Linked DNA regions of Homo sapiens: all the other regions are linked to region 4. Evidence: promoter capture Hi-C in human tissues and cell types (Jung and others, 2019). All regions are on one chromosome and are shown on one strand. The core of a region is centred on a gene start or on the middle of the fragment in contact, and the rest is flanking DNA. Distances in the headings are between cores, read along the strand shown. Region 1 overlaps CD38 (CD38 molecule). Region 2 overlaps CD38 (CD38 molecule). Region 3 has its middle 19 kb from the start of CD38. Region 4 holds the start of FGFBP2 (fibroblast growth factor binding protein 2). Region 5 overlaps TAPT1 (transmembrane anterior posterior transformation 1). Region 6 overlaps TAPT1 (transmembrane anterior posterior transformation 1).

What was found. The method cuts DNA at HindIII sites, captures the fragments that hold promoters and counts their contacts. A contact is called where the count stands out against the background at its distance.
Region 1: a fragment that was not itself captured here is called in contact with the fragment with the promoter of FGFBP2 in region 4 in 1 of the 25 tissues and cell types used here (lymphoblastoid cells).
Region 2: a contact is called between a fragment that was not itself captured here and the fragment with the promoter of FGFBP2 in region 4, in 4 of the 25 tissues and cell types used here (H1 embryonic stem cells, mesenchymal stem cells, small bowel and 1 more).
Region 3: a fragment that was not itself captured here is called in contact with the fragment with the promoter of FGFBP2 in region 4 in 2 of the 25 tissues and cell types used here (heart left ventricle and mesendoderm cells).
Region 5: a fragment that was not itself captured here is called in contact with the fragment with the promoter of FGFBP2 in region 4 in 1 of the 25 tissues and cell types used here (H1 embryonic stem cells).
Region 6: a contact is called between a fragment that was not itself captured here and the fragment with the promoter of FGFBP2 in region 4, in 1 of the 25 tissues and cell types used here (H1 embryonic stem cells).

The regions. Positions count from the first base shown.
Region 1 is chr4:15,787,562-15,791,438 of GRCh38, reverse strand. The region is part of intron 1 of CD38 (CD38 molecule); the gene reads right to left. Among named protein-coding and RNA genes, the nearest start is that of CD38, 11 kb to the right of the region's middle. The HindIII fragment of the contact is 4,271 bases long and covers 110-3,877 here.
Region 2 is chr4:15,829,360-15,833,217 of GRCh38, reverse strand. All of the region lies in intron 3 of CD38 (CD38 molecule), which reads right to left. Among named protein-coding and RNA genes, the nearest start is that of CD38, 53 kb to the right of the region's middle. The HindIII fragment of the contact is 8,209 bases long and covers 1-3,858 here.
Region 3 is chr4:15,757,504-15,760,976 of GRCh38, reverse strand. It overlaps a transcript of BST1 not described here. Among named protein-coding and RNA genes, the nearest start is that of CD38, 19 kb to the left of the region's middle. The HindIII fragment of the contact is 5,413 bases long and covers 1-3,473 here.
Region 4 is chr4:15,960,917-15,964,659 of GRCh38, reverse strand. It overlaps FGFBP2 (fibroblast growth factor binding protein 2), which reads left to right and starts at 1,485. Exons shown (of 2, transcript NM_031950.4): 1 at 1,485-2,222. The coding sequence starts at 1,531. The coding sequence ends at 2,202. RefSeq lists an enhancer at 614-1,455. The HindIII fragment of the contact is 18,537 bases long and covers 1-3,743 here.
Region 5 is chr4:16,181,302-16,184,648 of GRCh38, reverse strand. The region is part of intron 7 of TAPT1 (transmembrane anterior posterior transformation 1); the gene reads left to right. Among named protein-coding and RNA genes, the nearest start is that of TAPT1, 43 kb to the left of the region's middle. The HindIII fragment of the contact is 3,708 bases long and covers 1-3,347 here.
Region 6 is chr4:16,205,487-16,208,964 of GRCh38, reverse strand. All of the region lies in intron 2 of TAPT1 (transmembrane anterior posterior transformation 1), which reads left to right. Among named protein-coding and RNA genes, the nearest start is that of TAPT1, 19 kb to the left of the region's middle. RefSeq lists a silencer at 3,110-3,159. The HindIII fragment of the contact is 4,909 bases long and covers 1-3,478 here.

The DNA.
Region 1 (3,877 bases), core at 996-3,495, 170 kb after region 4:
GTCCTCACTTCCCAGTACGGGCGGACGGGCAGAGGCGCCCCTCACCTCCCGGACGGGGCGGCCGGCCGGGCGGGGGGCTGACCCCCACCACCTCCCTCCCGGACGGGGCGGCTGGCCGGGCAGGGGGCTGACCCCCCCTCCCCCCTCCCGGACGGGGTGGCTGGCCGGGCAGAGGGGCTCCTCACTTCCCAGTACGGGCGGCCGGGCAGAGGCGCCCCTCACCTCCCGGACTGGGCGGCTGGCCGGGCGGGGGGCTGACCCCCCCACCTCCCTCCCGGACGGGGCGGCTGGCCGGGCAGAGGGGCTCCTCACTTCCCAGTAGGGGCGGCCGGGCAGAGGAGCCCCTCACCTCCCGGACGGGGCAGCTGGCCGGGCGGGGGGCTGACCCCCCCCCACCTCCCTCCCGGACGGGGTGGCTGCCGGGCGGAGACGCTCCTCACTTCCCAGACGGGGTGGCCGCCGGACGGAGGGGCTCCTCACTTCTCAGACGGGGCGGTTGCCAGGCAGAGGGTCTCCTCACCTCTCAGACGGGGCGGCCGGGCAGAGACACTCCTCACCTCCCAGACAGGGTTGCGGCCCAGCAGAGGCGCTCCTCACATCCCAGACAGGGCGGCGGGGCAGAGGTGCTCCCCACATCTCAGACGATGGGCGGCCGGGCAGAGACGCTCCTCACTTCCTAGATGGGATGGCGGCGGGGAAGAGGCGCTCCTCGCCTCCTAGATGGGATGGCGGCCGGGCAGAGACGCTCCTCACCCTCCAGACTGGGCAGCCAGGCAGAGAGGCTCCTCATATCCCAGACGATGGGGGGCCAGGCAGAGACGCTCCTCACTTCCCAGACGGGGTGGCGGCCGGGCAGAGGCTGCAATCTCGGCACTTTGGGGGGCCAAGGCAGGCGGCTGGGAGGTGGAGGTTGTAGCGAGCCGAGATCACGCCACTGCACTCCAGCCTGGGCACCACCGAGCACCGAGTGAACGAGACTCCGTCCGCAATCCCGGCACCTCGGGAGGCCGAGGCCGGCGGATCACTCGCGGTCAGGAGCTGGAGACCAGCCCGGCCAACACAGCAAAACCCCGTCTCCACCAAAAAAAAAAAACGAAAACCAGTCAGGCGTGGCGGCGTGCGCAGGCACTCGGCAGGCTGAGGCAGGAGAATCAGGCAGGGAGGTTGCAGTGAGCCGAGATGGCAGCAGTACCGTCCAGCTTTGGCTCGGCATCAGAGGGAGACCGTGGAAGGAGACCGTGGAGAGAGAGGGAGAGGGAGGGGGAGGGGGAGGGAGAGGGGGAGAGGGAGAGGGAGAGGGAGAGGGAGAGGGAGAGGGAGAGGGAGAGGGAGAGCGGCTTGCTGCTTTTCAAGGCCTTTGCACATGCTGTTCCTTTTACCTAGGATGTTCTCCCCAGATATTTCTATGTTTCACTCTCCCTCTTTCTTTAGGTCTTTGCTAAGAGGACACCTTCCAGTAAAGCCTCCTGTTTTAGTCATTTTCTGTTGCTTATAGCAGAATACCTGAAGCTGGGTAATTTATTTTAAAAATGAATTTATTCCTTAAAGTTATGGAGGCCAAAAAGTCCAAGGTTTAGGGGACACATCTGGTGACAGCCTTCTTGCTTACCAGAACTCCGCAGAGTCCTGAGGCAGGACAGGGCATCACACGGTGAGGAGGGTGAGCATGCTAGCTCAAGTCCCTTTTCCTCTCCTTGTAAAGCCTGCCATTTCATTCCAAGGATAACCCATTGATCCATTAACCCATTAGCGTATTAATCAGTAATCCATGAATGGATTAATCCATTCATGAGGGCAGATCTCTCATGACCCAGTCACCTCCTAAAGGGCCAATCTCTCATCCTGCCACTTCTGGGATTACATTTCAAACATGAGTTTTGGAGGGGACAAATGTGCAAACCATAGCATCTTCTTTACTTTAGGTTTCCATACCTAAAAAAGAAATCCCCAAAGTTTATGGCTTTTTATCGCCCTGAGAAACTAACCACTTTTAAATGTACTCGGTGCCTCAAGATGTTCTTTGAACTGAGTTTATCATCTTGCTGATTCCTTCATAAATGAGTAAGTTGTAAACACTACACAGCACTCTTTTTAATACTTTCCACCATCTGCCATACTATGTATTTTTCTGTTTCAATGTCTGTCTCCCCTACTAGAATATAAGTTCCATGTGAGCAAGAATTTCATCTGTTTTGTTTACTGCTATATCTCCAGGATCTAAAAGAGTTTCTGGGACATCATAGGAGCTCAATACATATTTATTGAATAGATATCTTACAAAAATACCTAAAACGTGGAAATAAGGCAAAAAGATGGGCAGCATGTCTTTTCAGAGTCACACTGGGGTACTGTTTGCCAGGTTTACCAAGAATTACTTAATTATCTGGTAAAACATATATTTGTCTTTTCTATTTACCATTCATTAATAACTCTATGAAGTTTTATTCGAACCTTATGAAGTTAGATGGTAACTTGGAGATCTTTTCTGTTAAGTATGCAAATAATTTCTGTCTGATAAAAAAGAAATCCCCAACGTTTATAGCTTTTTATTGCCCTGAGAAACATTAACCAGTTTTATATCTACTCAGAGCCTCAAAATATTCTCTGAACTAAGTTTGTCATTTTGCTGATTCCTTCATAAATGAGTAAATCAATCTTTGATGTGTGTTGATTCTGCATGCTATGAAAGCCACGCTCTTACCTTTTTGAAAACTGATGTTAAATTGTGATGAGCTGGGCAAATTCAGCTGTTACTCTTGCCTATTCACTATTCGGGGTCCTGATTCTGATGTGTGTTTACACAGCACACACCTACCCCCGTGCAACAAGTCTGTTCTTCATCAGCAGAGAACACTCAGATGCACCCCACCTCCCATCAGATTCATCCAAGCTAAGCAGCCCCAGGACCTTGACTCTCTTCATCTGGCTTCTCATCCTGCCTCCCCTCTGTTTGGGGACCTGCGCTCATATGTCAGTCACTTTTTTTTAAAGTAAGCTCCCAGGACTGAAGGTGCATGGAATGATGATGGGATCTTCCTGGGGGCGGATAACGTGTCAGGTTTCCCTGTTTCGGCTGACAAACAACATGTTTCTAATGCAGAATCACAAGGAAATGTCACCTCTCAGAGCAACTCCAACCAATTGGTAGCATCTCCATGGTGCACTGGGTGGAAGATTCTGAGGCTGAACCAGGCTCATCCAATATGCTCTGAACAATCAGCAATGCCCATCATGGGCACAGTACTAGGAGTGCCAGGTGCATGCTGCATACTTCCTGACCCAGCTCTAAGAAGTGATTGTTAAGGTGAGATCAAATATAGGAGATCAGTCAGAGTAGTGGGAGAACCGATAGGGAAAGAAGAAGACCTTTTGAAAGGTCAGAAGGCTCTGCAAAGCTTCGGGGGAGAATAAGCTGAAGGCAGCTGTTCTCTTACCCTGACGCAGAGGGCGAGGAGTGGGTACAAGGGAATGTAGGGGAGTTTGTCTAAATAAGCTTGTTTACTTCCGGAAACCAACCTTTCATCATCCTCTGGCGAGACTGCTCCCTGCACGGCGGAACAACAATGTTAATTACCCACAGACTGCGTTGGCTCCAGGCTTTCGGCATTATGTCTGTACTGAATAAAAGTGAGCAGCTCCAGTTTATTGAGACTGCTGACTCTTCGGCAGTCCCCTAGCCGCTCTTTCACTGCGTACCTGTGTCTGAGTACTCCTTTCATCTGTCGCTCAGCCAGGGTCTGCAGGGCAGACCCGGCAATTAAACCACAAGGAACACGTCCTGGCAACCAGGAGAGGACGTGGCATTCTGCCGCTTTACCTACAAAGATTCGTAATCATTCCTGAAGTACAAAGACAAGGCGTCGTGACTCCCTAAAAG
Region 2 (3,858 bases), core at 304-2,803, 130 kb after region 4:
GAGGTAGAGCACCAACTGGGCTTGGGGTCCCTGATTCCAGGATGTGGCTCTTGGATAGCATTTCTGGGCCTGCCCTGGGCCAGAGGGGAGCCCACTGCTTTGAAGGGTGAGTCCCAGGCCAGGCAGCATTAACCACAAGCTGACTGAAGAGTCCTTGGGCCTTGGAATATTAACAGTACACTGGCAGTACTCCCTGTGGGCCTGTGGTGGTGGTGGCCATGAGGTGAGGCTCCTTTGCCTTAGAAAAGGGGAAGACAGCATGGGAAGGACTGTGTCTTGTGGTTTGAATGCCAGCTTAGTCACAGTACAATGCAATACTAGGTAGACTTCTAAGGTTTTTTACTCTAGTCCCTGGCTTCTGGATGGCACCTCTGGACCAACCCAGGGCCTTGGGAAACTTGCCAACCTGAAGAGAAGAACACGGGTCTGGCTGGCTTTCTCACCTACTGATTGTAGAGCCCCAGAGCCTTGAGCAAATATAGATGGCAGCTAGGAAGTGGTTACTGCAGGCCCTGGGCAAGTGCTGTACTGGCTTCAAGTCTTACCCAGCAAAGTCCTAGTTGCGGTGGAGTGTGTCACCAGCTTTATGTGGGTCAGAACAGAAAGAGAGAGACTCTGGGAGAAAGTAAAGGGACTAGAAAAAGAATCTCTGCCTGGTAATCCAGAGAATCCTTCTAGATCTTGTCCAAGACCATCAAGGTGGTACCTCCATGAGTGTGTACAAGACCCACAGCATTACTAGGCTTGCAGGGCCCCCTACAGCAGATACAACGTAGATCACAACATCCGAGTCCTTCAAAATATCTGGAAAGCCTTTCCAAGGACAAGTACAAACAGGCCCAGGTTGTAAAGACTACAATAAATACAATGCCTAGATGCAGAAAAATATCTACAAGTATCAAGACCATCCAGGAATACATGACCTCACCAAATGAATTAAATAAGACATCAGAGATCAATCCTGAAGAAACAGAGATATGTGAGACAGAGAATTCAAAATAGCCATGTTGAGGAAACTGAAAGAAATTCAAGAATTCTATCAGATGAATTTAACAAAGAGATGGAAATAATTAAAAAGAATCAAGTAGAAATTCTGGAGCTGAAAAGTACAAATAACACACTGAAGAATGCATCAGAGTCTTTTTATAGCAGAACTGATCAAGCAGAAGAAAGAATTTGTGAGCTTGAAGACAGGCTATTTGAAAATACACAGTCAGAGGAGACAAAAGAAAAAAGAATAAAAAACAATGAAGCACACTGGCAGGATCTAGAAAATTGCCTTAAAAGGGCAAATCCAAGAGTTATTGGTGTCAAAGAGGAGGTAGAAAAAGAGATACAGGTAGAAAGTTTATTCAAAGCAATAATAACAGAGAACTTTGCAAACCTAGAGAAAGATATCAATATCCCAAGTACAAGAAGGTTATAGAACACCAAGCAGATTTAACCCAAGAATGCTGCCCCAAAGCATTTGATAATCAAACTCCCAAAGGTCCAAGATAAAGAAAGGATCCTAAAAGCAGCAAGAGAAAAGAAACAAATAGCATACAAGGGAGTTTCAGTACATCTGGCAGCAGACTTTTCAGTGGAAACCTTACAGGCCAGATGAGAGTGGCATGACATATTTGAAGTGCTGAAAGACAAAAAAAAAAGTTTTTACTCTAGAATAGTATATCTGGTGAAAATATCCTTCAAACTTGAAGGAGAAACACAGACTTTTCCAGACAAACAAAAGGTGAGGGATTTAATTAACACGAGACCTGTCCTAGAAGAAATGCTAAAGGGAGTACTTCAATTAGAAAGAAAAGGATATTAATGAGCAATTTAATCATCTGAAGGTACAAAACTCACTGGCAGTAGTAAGTACACAGAAAACCACAGAATGTTATAACACTGTAACTATGACGTGTAAACTACTCTTGTCTTAAGTAGAAAAACTAAATGATGAGCCAATCAGAAATAATAACTACAATAACTTTTCAAGACATATAAAGTACAATAAGACATAAATAGAAACAACAAAAAGTTTTAGAGTGGGAGAATGAAGTTAAGGTATAGAGTTTGTATTAGCTTTCTGTTTGCTGTCTTTGTTTCTTTATGCAAACTGTGTTAAGTTGTTATCAGCTTAAAATAATGGGATATAAGATACTATTTTTAAGCCTCATGGTAACTTCAAACTCAAAAACATATAACAGTTCCACAAAAAATAAAAAGCAGGAAACTGAAAAAATCACCTCCACTGAAAGGAAGACAGAAAGGAAAGAAAGAAGGAAGAGAAGACCACAAAACAAACAGAAAACAAGTAACAAAATGGCAGGAGTAAGTCCTTACTTAAAAATATAACATTTACGTCAAATGTAAATGGACTAAACTCTACAATCAGAAGGCACAGAGTGGCTCAATGGATAAAAATGAAACTAGACCCCTATCTCAAATCACATACAAAAATAAAATCAAAATAGATTAAAGATTTAAATCTAAGACCTCAAACTATGAAACTACTGCAAACTACTACAAGAAACCACTGGGGAAACTCTCCATGACATTTGTCTGGGCAAAAAAAATTATTGAGCAATACCCCATGAGCACAGGCAACGAAAGCAAAATGAACAAACAGGATCACATCAAGTTAAAAAGCTTCTGCATAGCAAAGGAAACAATCAACAAAGTGAAGAGAGAGCCCACAGAATGGGAGAAAATATTTGCAAACTACCCATTCAAGAAGGCATTAAAAACCAGAATAGATAAGTAATTCAAACAACTCTATAGGAAAGAAATCTAATAATCCAATTAAAAATGGGCAAAAGATTTGAATACATATTTCTCAAAAGAAGACATACAAATGGCAAACAGGCATATGAAAATGTGTTCAAATCATTGACCATCAGATAAATGCAAATCAAAACTATCATGAGATATCATCTCACCCCAGCTAAAATGGCTTTCATCCAAAAGTCAGGCAATAACAAATAATGATGAGGATGTGGAGAAAGGGGAACCCTTGTACACTGTTGGTGGGAATGTGAATTAGTACAACCACTATGGAGAACAGTTTTGAGGTTTCTCAAAAAAATAAAAATAGAGCTATTATATGATCCAGCAATGCCACTGCTGGATATATACCCAACAGAAAGAAAATCAGTCAATGGAAGAGATATCTGCACTCCCATGTTTATTGCAGCACTGTTCACAATAGCCAAGATATGGAAACAACCTAAATGTCCATCAATAGATAAATGGATAAAGAAAATGTGGTATTTATACACAATGGAGTACTATTCAGCCACAAAAAAGAATGTGTTCCTGTCATTTGCAACAACATGAATAGAACTGGAGGTCATTATGTTAAGTGAAATAAGCTAGACACAGAAAGATAAACATAGGATGTTCTCACTTATTTTAGCATCCAACAAATCAAAACAACTGATCTCATGGACATGGAGAATAGAAAAATGGTTACCAGACGCTGGGAAGTGTAGCAAGACATTGTGGGGAGGTGGGGATGGTTACCAAAAAATAGTTAGAATGAATAAGACCTATTATTTGATAGCACAGTATGGTGACTGTAGTCAATAACAATTTTGTTGTACATTTTAAAAAAAGCTTGTCCAACCCATGGCCCATGGGTCTCAAGCAGCCCATGACAGCTTTGAATGCAGCCCAACACATAAGTTCAATTCATAAACTTTCTTAGAAATTAGGAGATTTTTTGCGATTTTTTTTCAGCCCATCAGCTATCATTAGTATTAGTGTATTTTATGTGTGGCCCAAGACAATTCTTCCAATGTGGCCCAGGGAAGCCAAAAAATTGGACACCCCTGTTTTAAAATAACTAAAAGAATAAAATTGGATTGTTTGTAA
Region 3 (3,473 bases), core at 467-2,966, 200 kb after region 4:
GGCTCACACCTGTAATCCCAGCACTTTGAAAGGCCAAGGCAGGCAGATTACTCAGGAATTTGAAACCAGCCTGGGCAACATGGTGAAACCCCATCTCTACTAAAAATACCAAAAAAAAAAAAAAGCTAGGCGTGGTGGTGCACACCTGTGGTCCCCACTACTCATGAGGCTGAAGTAGGAGGATCACCTGAGCCCAGGAAGTGGAGACTGCAGTAAGCCAAGATCACACCACTGCACTTCAGCCTGGGTAAAAGAGACCTTATCTCGAAAAATAAATAAATAAATAAATAAATATATAGTATATATTTATTTATGCATGCTTACATATATAAGGAAAAATTATATTTTTACCAGACAACTATTAATTCATTTATTCAATTTATTTAATAAATAGTTTTAAGTTTACCATATGTCAGCACTGGATCAGCGATGAACAAACCAGACAAAAATCCCTGCCCTCAGCTACTTTAGAAAATAATCTGGCAATTCCTCAAAATGTTAAGCAGAGTGAACATGACCTGGAAATTCCACTCCTGGATATCTACCCAAGAGATATGAAAACATATGTTCACACAGAAATGTACATGAAGGTTCATAAAGGCATTATCATAATAATTGATAAACAGAAACAACCCAAATATCCTTAATTGATGAATGGATAAACAAAATGTGATATGCCCACACAGCGGAATATTATTGAGCCAAAAAAAAAAATGAAATGCTAACGCATACCACAACATGGACGTACCTCAAAAACATGCCAAGTGTAAGAAGCTAGTCACAAGAAGTAACATATTGTATAATTCCACTTACATGAGATATCCAGACTAGGCAAATCCATAGAGACGGAAAGTAGATTAGAAGTTCCCTAGGGCTGCATGTTGGGGAATGAGGAGTGACAGCCCAATAGGAATGGGGTTTCCTTGGGGTTGAGAGGAATGTTCTAAACTTGTGTGATAGTCACAAAACTGAATATGCTAAAAACTACTAAATCATATACTTTCAGGATAAATTTTATGTTTGTAAATTCGATCTCAAAAAAAGATGTTAAACAAAATCCCTCCTCACATAGGGTTTATGGTTTCTGGTGTAACTCCCTTCCATTTTTCCTGGTTCTGATATGAAGATAGCCCATTCCAGATTTGATGCCACTGGGTAAATACTGGGAGTGGAGGGGGGAAGTAAAGGAGAAAGCGGGGTATTGAGCCTTTATTAACTTATGGTAATATCCAACTAAATAGTAGCTCTTTGGTGCTGTACCCCATGACACCCCCTGTTACAGAAACAGGGAAAATGGTTTCCATTGGCAGAATAGTCATACGCTGCCTCTTACCAACTCTTAGGAAGAGAAATAAGGAATGAGGAAGAAGAAAGGGGATGGAAGAGAAGTGAAGAAGTGAGAAAAACAGGAGGAGGAAGAAGTTAGAGAAAGAAAAAAGAAGAAAAATGAAAATAGATGAGAAGTTAAGGTAGAAGAAAATGAAGGAGGAAATGGAGCAGAAACATTAACTGAGCATTTACTAAGTGCCAAACACCATACTGGGGTCTTTCTATACACAGTGTTATCAAATCTGCATAATAACCCCATGAGGTAAATATTCTTACTATACCTGCTTTACAGATTTGAAAACTTGAGTGTGGTGAATACAGCATTTTCAGAGGTGCCACTGCTGGGCGTTCTACCAGTCAGCCCTTGAGCAGCACATCCATCTTCTTTCGCCCAGAAATCTGGGTAGTGGGCTCCATAGTGGACCAGTAGTATAATCTGGATGTTATTCTTGGCTCTTTCCTTAGTCCTTCTCCGTCCCTGAGATGCTTGAGCTTCCTAATATTCTGTAATATACACCAGGAGATAGTTTTTGATATACATAACTAGGAATTTTGACTATGGCAGACAGAGGTCAGTTAACTTAACTGAGGACACACAGATACGTGTGGTGGAAATGGGACTTGATGCCTGTCCACCTGATTCCAAGCATTGACTCTTAGCCATGATTTCCTACAAAAGGCACTGAGGTGTGTAGGCCATAGCTCCGTAATCCACCTGCAGTGAAGACAACACCAGCATGCAGGTTGTGGTTCAGGTGGGAAATGTTTTGTTCTGTTTCATTCCATAGAAATAGGTAGGCATTGACGCCAAATACTTTATACATACTAAAACTTAATTAAATGATCTTAAATAATACTGCATATTCTCACTTAAATGAAGAATCTAAAACAATCAAACTCGTAGAACCAGAGAATAAACTGGTGGTTACAGAGGCTAGAGGGTGAGGGTGTTAGGGAGATGATGAACAAGGTACAAAAATCTCAGAAGGAATATGGAAGTTTCTTTGAAATCTATTGCATAGTGTGGTGAATATAGTTAACAAACAGTATCATACATTTCAAAATTGCTAAGAGAGTAAATTTCAAATGTTCTCATGACAAAAAAATGCTAAGGATATGATTTCATTCTTTTTTATGGCTGCATAGTATTCCACATATTTAGCAGCAACATGGATACAGCCGCAAAAGATGTAGCTTAGGATAATGGAGGCCATTGTCCTAAGTGTATTGATGCAGGAACAGAAAATCAAATGCCACATGTTCTCACGTTTAAGTGAAAGCTAAATATTGAGTGCACATGGACATAAAGATGGAAACAATAGACGCTGGGGACTACTAGAGGAGACAGGGCGGAAGGGGAGGGACGGCTGAAAAACCAGCTGTCAGGTACTATGCTCACTACCTGGGTGATAAGATCATTAGTATACCAAACCCCAGTGACACACAATTTGCCTGTGTAACAAACCTGCCCATGTACCCCCTGAAACTAAAATAAAAGTTGAAAAAAAATGCTAAATATTTGAGATGATGGATATGTTAACTAGCTTAATTTAATTATCCTACATTGTATTTATAAATTATAACATCACGTTGTATCCAGAAATATACACAATTATAAATTGTCAATTTACAATAAAAATTGTTATTAAAAATGCTGATGTTATTGGGTTTTTAAAACATTAGACATTTAATGTTTAAGAAAATCCCACCGGGCGCGGTGGCTCATGCCTGTAATCCCAGCACTTTGGGAGGCCGAGGAGGGCGGATCACCTGAGGTCGGGAGTTCAAGACCAGCCTGATCAACATGGAGAAACCCTGTCTCTACTAAAAATACAAAAATTAGCTAGGTGTGGTGGCGCATGCCTGTAGTCCAAGTTACTTGGGAGGTTGAGGCAGGAGAATCACTCGAACCCAGGAGATGGAGGTTGCAGAGAGCCGAGATCCTGCCATTGCACTCCAGCCTGGGCAACAAGAGCAAAACTCTTTCTCTAAATAAATAAATAAATAAATAAAATTTTTAAAAGAAATTCCCTATAAAGGATTCTCTGTAATATTAATGGAAAGAAATGGTGAAGAGGGAGTGAAGTTGAGGAGAAGTTTTCTTTAACAGGGGACCACTGTTCAGAACAGTCTGCGGGGCGGGG
Region 4 (3,743 bases), core at 236-2,735:
TTTAAAATTTAGCTGGGTGTGGCAGCCCATGCCTGTAGTCCCAGTTACTTGAGAGGCTGAGGCAGGAGAAGTAATTGAGCCCAGGAGTTGGAGGCTACAGTGAGCTATAATTACACCAGTGCAATCCGGTCTAGGTGACAGAATGAGGCCAAAACAAACAAACAAACAAACAAACAAAAAAAACACCTGCCCTTTACCCTTTCTCAACCTGACAAATTGACTGACTTGTCTTGAAGGTTTGGCACCACTTCTTGGAAGCTTCCTCTGCTCCCCACCTGGGGTGATGCCCTCTTCTGGAAGGCTCTCACTGCTACACACACAGTGGCTGCCGAAGCTCAGCCTGGCTTTAGTTCCAGCCCTACTAGGTCTTCTCAGGACTCAGGATATCCAGGTGGAAGGAAGGCTGTGCCAGGTACCAACTACCCTACGTGGGATCGCCAAGATAAATCCCTCACATTCAAACTAGTCCCCCAACATCCGTCAACCCTATTCCTAACAGCAAATTGCCACCTTTAGTCCACTCCACAGTGCCCTCTGGAAGGGTCATCAAAAGACAGTTATGACCATACCAAACTATGATTCTTGACACAGAATCAAAAGTTATTTTCAATTTATTTTTTTTCTATTGTAGAACAATAATAATAATATTTAAAATCATATTTTCCTGTGATATAATTAAAACTGTGTTATTTCAATTGAATTTGAAATAGAATTCATGGTCTAAAATAGACTGAATCCCACTGTGAACATATATTTGCATGCCTTCCTCGTCATCATTCAGTTGGTGCAATTGTAAGGCATGCAATAACAAGGGAAGTGAACATTGCAGCACTGTGGCCTGTGGCCACGGTGATGGCGGGACAGCCCCACAGAGGCCACACCAGGTGACTCTCAGCTCGGTGGGTGGGAGGGGGAGTGTCTCTGTGTCCCTCTGGCACACACATCCTCACACAACCTCACATAGTCTTTTTTGCATTTGCTAGGCCATCTCATAACACTTAGGCTCATAAAATTCTGGCTTCCTTTGGATTAACTAAACCCATGGTCCCCCAAGATGGGGATTCCAGGGAGCAGGAGGGAGCCTCGAGGCAGCCCAGACTCCCAGCTGCAAACCTCACTTTCCAGAATACCACTGCCACACCTTGGCATATACCAAATGTTGACAAAGAAGGCTGTTCCCGTACAAGGGCCAATTTTAGAGCAAGCACCCTGTGGTTGGAAAACTGTAAAACCCTCAGCCCCAAAGCTGTGTGTGGCGCTTTGTGCGTGACAGGGCTGGGGCAGATCTCTCTGAGGCACTCAGGAAAACCATTCCCTTTGCTTGTGGTGGGCGGCCCCTGGTGGCTGCTCTGCCCTTGCCAAGTGTTACGTGTCTAAGGTCTGTGGGCATGTTTCTCATTTGCTGCAAAACATCCTCCCCACCCTTGCAGAGAAAGAGTCTTTTGTGCAGCACCCTTTAAAGGGTGACTCGTCCCACTTGTGTTCTCTCTCCTGGTGCAGAGTTGCAAGCAAGTTTATCGGAGTATCGCCATGAAGTTCGTCCCCTGCCTCCTGCTGGTGACCTTGTCCTGCCTGGGGACTTTGGGTCAGGCCCCGAGGCAAAAGCAAGGAAGCACTGGGGAGGAATTCCATTTCCAGACTGGAGGGAGAGATTCCTGCACTATGCGTCCCAGCAGCTTGGGGCAAGGTGCTGGAGAAGTCTGGCTTCGTGTCGACTGCCGCAACACAGACCAGACCTACTGGTGTGAGTACAGGGGGCAGCCCAGCATGTGCCAGGCTTTCGCTGCTGACCCCAAACCTTACTGGAATCAAGCCCTGCAGGAGCTGAGGCGCCTTCACCATGCGTGCCAGGGGGCCCCGGTGCTTAGGCCATCCGTGTGCAGGGAGGCTGGACCCCAGGCCCATATGCAGCAGGTGACTTCCAGCCTCAAGGGCAGCCCAGAGCCCAACCAGCAGCCTGAGGCTGGGACGCCATCTCTGAGGCCCAAGGCCACAGTGAAACTCACAGAAGCAACACAGCTGGGAAAGGACTCGATGGAAGAGCTGGGAAAAGCCAAACCCACCACCCGACCCACAGCCAAACCTACCCAGCCTGGACCCAGGCCCGGAGGGAATGAGGAAGCAAAGAAGAAGGCCTGGGAACATTGTTGGAAACCCTTCCAGGCCCTGTGCGCCTTTCTCATCAGCTTCTTCCGAGGGTGACAGGTGAAAGACCCCTACAGGTAATACCCTTTCCTTTACTCATATACAGAGACTACGTGTATATACTTATATACAGAGACTACGTGAGAGGCACTTAGCACTTTCACAGCTGCTGCGACCACATCAGAGTCTCAGCGTGTGTTTGGGGGTGGGTTTGAGGCTGTCTGTTGCAGAGCAGTGTAGATGAGGTAGTTCATCCGGAGTGGCACTTGACCCTGGAGTTGCATAGGAATCACCTACAAGGAGCTCTAAAAATGCTGATGCCCAGGCCCCTCGCCAGACCGTTCCATCTATGTCTCCAACATAGTAGCGCAGGAATGTGGACTTTTAAAACTCTCCCCCAAGTGATTTGAATGTGCAGCCAAGGTTGAGAATCTCCTTGTGATGGAACCACCTCACTGTTAGACCGAGGCCTTTGGAATTCTGCCGGGTAACGTTTCCTAATGAACCAAGCATTTGCTGCAGCTGTTAGTGGCCGAGGTGCTATGTCATGGTGGAGGTGTCGCCACACCCCGTCTTGTTCTCAGTTTTTTCTCCTACAGTCAAGTTAGGGTGGGGAGTGTTGTGCACTGAGGAAAGTTTGAGTCAAATAGTCTTTAAAGTCTTTCTCACAGCTCTCAAAGCCTTTAATTGTTTTTTGTTCATCACAGAGGAGAAAATCTAATTAATAATAACAGATTTAATCAACTCCAAGTATTGCTTTTAAAAGACCAAACTTTTTCTTGTGGAAATAAGGCTTATTACTGATCTCTATCCTTAAATGTAGCAGCTTTCATTAATTTTGCACACCAGTAAGGAGTTCATTTACATGGGATTCTAGTCTTACTTGTGCACTTTGAGTTTAAAAGGAGAGTTTCTGAGTTTTTTTCATATTATCTATGTAAGAAAAATAGGAACAAAGCAGATTTCCTGATAAACAGCACTTTGATAACGAATACCACCAAACAAATAAGGCTTTTTCTACAAGCGCCCAGGCAGCAAGAAATGTTGGTTCACAACAAAGTTGTTTTGGTGTCTGCTGTTCTGGGCTGGAGGTTTTCTGCTTGTTTAAGATTTCAGATCTGTCCCAGAGGAGAAAAGGGGACACTTAAGCCAAAAAAAGTTACTATTGAGAGGAGGTCCTTTTTTTTTTCTTTTTAAAGTGATTTTTTTGGTCTTTCTACAAATAAGACATACAAATCATTTGAAAAATTCAAACACAACAGAAAAATACAAAGAATTTTAAAACTTCATCCATAATCCCACCACACAGAGATAAACAATGTTAACAGAAGAGTACCCATTTAGACATCCATCCATGCGTATTTACACAGACAGATGTACAGCGTATATACAGATGCATACAGGCGCTAAAGCTCAAAACAATATCTTGATCCTGCAGATAAGCTGCATAGGACTACTGTATTAGCTTGCTGGGGCTGCCATAGCAAAATACCACAGAATGGGTGGCTTAAACAGCAGAAATATATTTTCTCACAATTCTGGAGACTGAAATTCCAAGATCAAGGTGTCAGCAGGATTGGTGTCTTCTGAGGACTCTC
Region 5 (3,347 bases), core at 314-2,813, 220 kb before region 4:
GCTCTTGTAGCCTGACAGTGCCACAAGTTAGGATATGGATTAACTGGCACTCAGGCATCGATGGCGTGAGTGTAAAGTATTACAACTGCTGTTTTTGGCCATTTCTTTTACAGTTAAATGTTCACCTGCCCTGTAATTCAGGAAATATATTTCCTCAGTAGGACTTGTTGCAAGAATTATTATGGCAGCTTTGTTCATACTAGCCAAAAACTGGAAACAACCCAAATAGCTATCAGTAGGAAAATAAACAAACTGTATATCCATACCATAGAATACTACTTAGCAATTAAAGATAAAAGAATGAACTCCTAATATTGTCAGCTATGTAGGTCTCAGAAGCATTATGTTGAGCAGAAAAGCCAGACACAAAAGTGTACATGATGTATTATTTCATTTATATGAAGTTTATGATCAGACAAAATTCGTTTATGATGATAGGAATAAGAGGTTGTTTGTTGGGCATTTGGATTGACTAAGGGGACTCAAAGGAGCTTTCTGGATGATGGAACTTCTTTCTGTATTAAGGGCTTGGTGTCTCAAGTTATGCATTGATCAGAACTCATCACATAATGTACTTAAGATCTGTGCATTTCACTGTATGTAAATTTTACCTGTATATTAGACAAGGAAAATAATGGCATATGAATATGTTAAACAAGTTATAGGAGATTTGAAAACTAAGCAAGGAACAAAAAGAACAAATGGAAAACTTGAACATAAAGCCTAGATGATTCTATGAGGCCATGCTGGACCTGACTCTCAAGGCTCTGAGAAGCAGTTCATATTCTTGCTGCTTATTAATGTTGCTCACCTTTCAAGTGCAGACTGCCAAGTGTCATGAATTAGAAATGAAAGAGGAAGGAGGGAAGGTACTAAATTATAGAATACTTTGCTTCAGTAGTTAACCATAGAGTAAATTGATTCAACTGTAAGAATTTCGTTTGTTGTGGAAACCATGTTTTTTTTAAATTAATTCATATTAGTAACCTCCTTTGGGTAAGTGCTCTTTATAGAGCCTTAAACTAGACACGCAGATCTTAAGTTTTAAAGGTTTTCAATCCTTGTGTATAAAAGCTTCAAAATTATGAGGGGGAAATTGTGAATGTTTTTAACCTTATGGCCAGCATGTTGATGTAATTAATACCCCTTTTCATTTTTATAAACGGGTTCCCCAGAATTCCAACCTCTTAGCTTAGAAAGATTAGGTATTCAATATTTGAGTTTTAAGAAAACTCTGGGAAAAAAAATGATATAATGATCAGGTATGCATATCAGTCTACAAGAAATTTGGACTTTATTTTGGCTTAAAATGGTTACTACTTAGCACCAAAAAAAAAATTACTTTTTGCTGTAAGCAAAGTAGCTCATGTTACAATGCAAGGTGGTCCGCATTGTACCCTTTAAGAGTTTTATAAGAAATTAACTTTACCCTAAGGCAGATTTTAAGACCCTTCTCAAGTAAGAAAAAAAATATTCTAGGCAACGTTCAGCTATTAAAATGGAAAGATCAGGAGTCACCAAGAGGTGCTTTTTACTCTTTATATGAATATGTTGCCTTCTTCATATGCTTCAGTAGTAGCTACTTAATGAGAGCCAGTCAGGAGGGATACTCATATCGGCTATTTTTTTCTTATGAATTTTCCTATGAATTTTTTCTCCATCAGAATTTGAGTTGCCAGATACGTAGTGTAAGGTTCAGTCCTTCATGCTGGTTTAATATAGAAGACTTCATGGAGAAATCTGAGAGTAACTTTACCCCTTTCAGTGGTAGCTCACTGTATATTTTCTTTGGAGGAATTGCCTGAGGACATGTGAAAAGTAGTTTAGTTACCAAAACCAGATTTTTAACAAATTATCCTTTTCTTCACTTCATTTTAACATAAGCGTTAGCTGAATGTGGAACCCCAGCCTTTCTGGTTTGCATTCTTGAGATGAAGAATTTTAGGTAGTTTTTTACGCATTGGTAATGTGAACTGTGCATTTAGAAAGGTCCTTCAGGAGTTAGGTTGTCTGGAGTAAGCTTATAGCTCACTTAGCACTCTTAGAAGCCTGCATATCTGCAATAAATGTGGATGTTTGTTGGAAATAGTCACTCATTTTATATTTAAAATGTGACTGCAAGTATGTTAAAGTATATCCCTGTTAGTGGTAATATAGCAAGGAAAAAGCTTAATAACCTGAATGTCAGAAATATTTTAAAAGCATTAATACCAATGTTTTTAAGCTTCTTAATAAAGGTTAGGAGAAAACATTCCTAGAAATTTTAATTTTTAATCAATGTAAGAGTTCAGTTCTAATCCGAACCCTGACTATTCTGAAGATGAGATGGTATAAATATGTTGCTGATTGCATTATTTATCTAATATATGTTTGATTATCAGTATCAGACTCTGTTATTCTCATAAAAATTTTATTTCTTTTTATATCTTACTTTGGAGAAACTTAAAATTTGGGTATTTTTTAACTCAAATTTTAAAAGTCAAATCTTGATTTTATAATGTCTATGTAAAACATTTAAATGTAAAAGTTGTGAAAGTGTAAGAATAAAACTTCCAAAAAATCTTCACATAACAGCCTCATTTTTATAGTTAGATATAGTTTTGTATCTTTATCTTATCAAATAAAGATAGAGTTAATTTTTATGGTGTCACTTTTTAATCTTTAAGCTTGCCATCCTTCACATCCTTCATCTTATAAAATCGCATTCATTTACCAAATTTATCCATTTTTATTAATCTCTATCATATTTTGAAATAGTCTGCTTTTCTAAAATTTGTTTTGGGCCAGGCACAGTGGCTCACGCCTGTAATCCCAACACTTTGGGAGGCCAAGATGGGCGGATCACCTGAGATCAGGAGTTGGAGACCAGCTTGGCCAACATGGTGAAACCCTGTCTCTGCTAAAAATATAAAAATTAGCCGGGCATGGTGGCACATGCCTGTAATCCCAGCTACTCCGGAGGCTGAGACAGGAGAATTGCTTGAACCCGGGAGGTGGAGGCTGCATCCAGCCTGGGAGACAAAGCAAGACTCTTGTCTCAAAAAAATAAAAAAATCTTAAAAAATAAAATCTGTTTTGCCTTAAATACACCTTTAATGAGATAAGTTTTTCCCCCTTTCATCAGTATCCTTAGAAATGAAATTATTGCAGATTTTCTCTATACTTGCAGCTGCCATATGTCCAAAAATCAAATACAATTAATTTAAATTCGATGGTAGTTTTGCTTTGTTAGAGTTTACAAAAGTTACTTTGGCTCATTTCAGATAGTGTTTTAAATTTCTCAAGGCCATTTATTTTCAGATAATTCTGTAATGAAGCAAGTCTATATTATACATGTTTGGGAAGTA
Region 6 (3,478 bases), core at 392-2,891, 240 kb before region 4:
TTGAGCCCCAGAGGCAGAGGTTGCTCTGAGCTAAGATCATGCAACTGTACTCCAGCCTGGGCAACAGAGTGAGACCCTATCTCAAAAAAAGAGATAGGCTAGATCCAGTTATGTTGAATGGTCAGGCTGGAGAGTTTAGAGTTGAGTCTATGGAAGGAGACTATTAAATATATATTTCTTAGGAATGCTTTTAGCTGTATAGAATGGAAAAGCTGGCTAACAGTCATTTAAACAAGTAGGAAATTATTTTTTTCAACAAATCTAGAAGAAAAGAGGTCTCAGTTGTTGCAGCAGATTAATGAAGCTGTCACGGACCCAAGTCCTTTTCATCTTTCTATTTTGCCATCCTTGGCAAATTGGCTTTGGGTCCTCTTGCTTGTTGTCTTCTAGTAGAAAGATGACGGCTGCAACCTCGGCATTACATCTGCATTATAAACAAAGAAATGGGGTGGGCATTGCCACTTTTTTGACTATGCCTTTTATAAAGATTGAAAGATTTCCCAGACGTGGCCTGGAATACTTCCACTTCTGTCTTATTGTCCAAACTGAGCTACATAGCCATTCCCAGCTGCAAAGGAGGCTAGGACAGTGAATGTTAGGCTTTTCCAACAAACAGAAAAGAACTGAGAATGGTTATTGGGTTAGCCATCCGTCAGAGCTTTCTTTCTGGAAAATTAGTATAGTCATATTCAACATGGACTGGAAATGAGACAAGCAGGGAGAGCTCAAGATCCTTCCATGAATATAGTTAATATATAATTTAATTCTACAATTAAAATTCTAATTTAATTCTACAATTACATAATTTAATTCTACAAATTAAAATCTTCATTTGATTTACTTATTCCCCTCTCATGGTATTTATTTCTTGGGTTAAATATGTCAGATGTATGTTGTGGATTATCATGAAGCCTTTTAGCAATATTCTTTTCCGTGTTTATATATGTTCATGTAAGCTTGCATATCTGGTTAAACTAAAATGAAAATATTCTGTTGACTTTTCTTTACCTTGTAATTCTGTGCTTTTTGGCAATTCATTATTTCATTGTTACCATGCCTTGTACATTATAGCTATTTAATACATTTTTCTAAAAATTAAATTCAACTGCTTAAATAGAATGACTTAGTTTTCTTACCAATGTAGCAAATTTTTATAAGCCTTAAATTTGTCAGATTGAAGGTGTAAGTATTGATATATTGTTATTACTAGGCATAGACTATTATTGTTGAAAGGGGGAAGGGTTACTGTCATACAGGGGAATTATTTGTAATCAAGCATCAACAACCTTAGCTTCTTGAGTCTGTTTGTAATAGCTGAGGCCTGATCAAGGCATCAGATCTCTCTTGGGTTTTACTTTCTTCTATGATTAGAAGGTTGTACCTAGGTCATCTCAAGAGGTCTAATAGTGCATGATTCATTGAATGAGTTTGCCTGTGAGGAATGGTGAGGGTAGATGGAAAGATTTAAATGTCTAGTGGAGTAACTTAATTTTGCCTTTTTGAAGGTCGTGGTGGGGTTAACATTTAGGAAAAAATAATCCAAAAGTTCATTTCAAACGAACGGACTTCAAATGTCATATAAAGCCTTTTTGTTTTATGTCAGTGTGAGGATATGTTAAGAAAACGTAATGACTATTGTTTCCCCTTTATTTCAGTAAAACAGTCCTGGGATTTCATTGTGAAACTAATAGAGAGTATTTACTCAGACCCATATTTATGGCAGTGTTTTCTTGGGCATCCTAGTCAGTTTCTGATTTCATAAAAACATGTTCAGAGAATCATCCCTCTAAATTCTTCTCATAATGCAGCTCTTGCTGGTGACACACCCTTGTGCAGATGTTCCCCCTCCTTGTCCCCCAGCCCCTGCTGTGTGGCTGCTGAGAAGCAGGAAAGCCAGTAGGGATCCACATGTCTCAGAATCTCAGCAGCCTTGGCTGGTGCTTCTCCCCTTCTCTCCGAGGCTTGTCACACCCTGCTTGTGGTGGTAGTGACCACAGCTTCCACGTTCTTTCTGCAACTGTCTTACCATTCTTAATTTTCTCAGGGGAGGTTGGGCATATGAGACTCATCAGATAGTTCTAAGACAAGCCAGCAAAGCCTTTAGGCCTCTAGCACATTTATTAATGTATTTAAAAGATAATTTTTGAACTTGGCACCATGGGGCCATGTTTATCTTTGTGAATCAATCACTTATTTCTCTCATTTCAGCTTTGGAAACAGTCTTAAATTTCTCTTCTCTGTCTTTCCATTGTCCTATGTCAGGCTGCTGTGATCATTCACACTGATGGCTCTTCTCCTTCCGTACTGTCCTCTCTGCTCACTGCAGCCTGCTGTGGTGCTTCGTGCTGACCACTCCCTAGAAAGTCGATCTCATCCTAGATAGAAGGTGTAGGATCAGAGCCTAGAGCCGCAGCTAAGACCTCTGTTCCTTAGGTGACACTCAGTCTTGCCCTGGGACCCTGAGGGCACTCCTGCCTTGCTGCATCATTCCAGCCTCTCAGCAGGAGCACCACAGCCCTGTCTAAGCCCTGTCTGTAGCAAGCAAAATACCAAGTAATAGTTCCTGCCTGGTGGGTTGTTGTGAGGATCAAGTTAATGTGGGTCACGTGCTTAAAATATAACAGTATTCAACATGGATTGGAAGTAAGAGAAGCAAGAAAGTCTCAGGATCATTCTATGTGCATAGTCCTACAAATTAAAATCAATTGACTTGTTTTCCATGGCTGCATATGCTTACATAGCTTGCCTATCGTAAGAGAACTTGGCTCATGATAATCCCTTTGTTGGCCATCTCCTAGAGTATAGACTTTCTGGGGCATGAATTTTTTAATTCGGATGATTAAAATGATTTTATTGTAGGGATGACCTTGAATCTGCAGTAATTGCTTTCAAAGTCAGTCATTTATAGTTTTCTTATTGATATCCTGTTCCCCTTAACATTCTGCTGATTGTTGATCCCTATATGTGAGTTTATTGAGAACATCTTCATTCTCAGCAGAGATTTATCAAAATGTACATGTTTCAAAATAACCTAATCATCTTCAGGTACCTCTTTAAAATAAAAGAGCTATAAGTGAAAACAGTCAAAAGACAAGGATACCTTGGAACCTAAGAATGAAAATTTGAGCTCCTTAGCAATGAACTGAACGTGATTTTTATGCCTCTTGCATAATGATTATATCCTAACCTCACCACTAGGAGGCTACTCACATTGTACCTGTGCATGCTCTTTCCTTGGTTTGAAATTCGGTCCTCTTTACTGCCTGGCAAAATCTAGTGCCTGTCTTCTCTCCTCTGTGGGACATCTCTGCTATCTCTTGCACCTCCTTCCCTGTGGTGTGCATGCCACTCTCACCTGCCCCCAAATACACACGCTTTACAGACCCAGGCTCTTCACCTGTGTTTCCAGAGCACATCATTCATCTGGCACTTAGCATGCGGTTTGTGTCAAGCTCACTGGGTTGTGAATTCCCTGGAG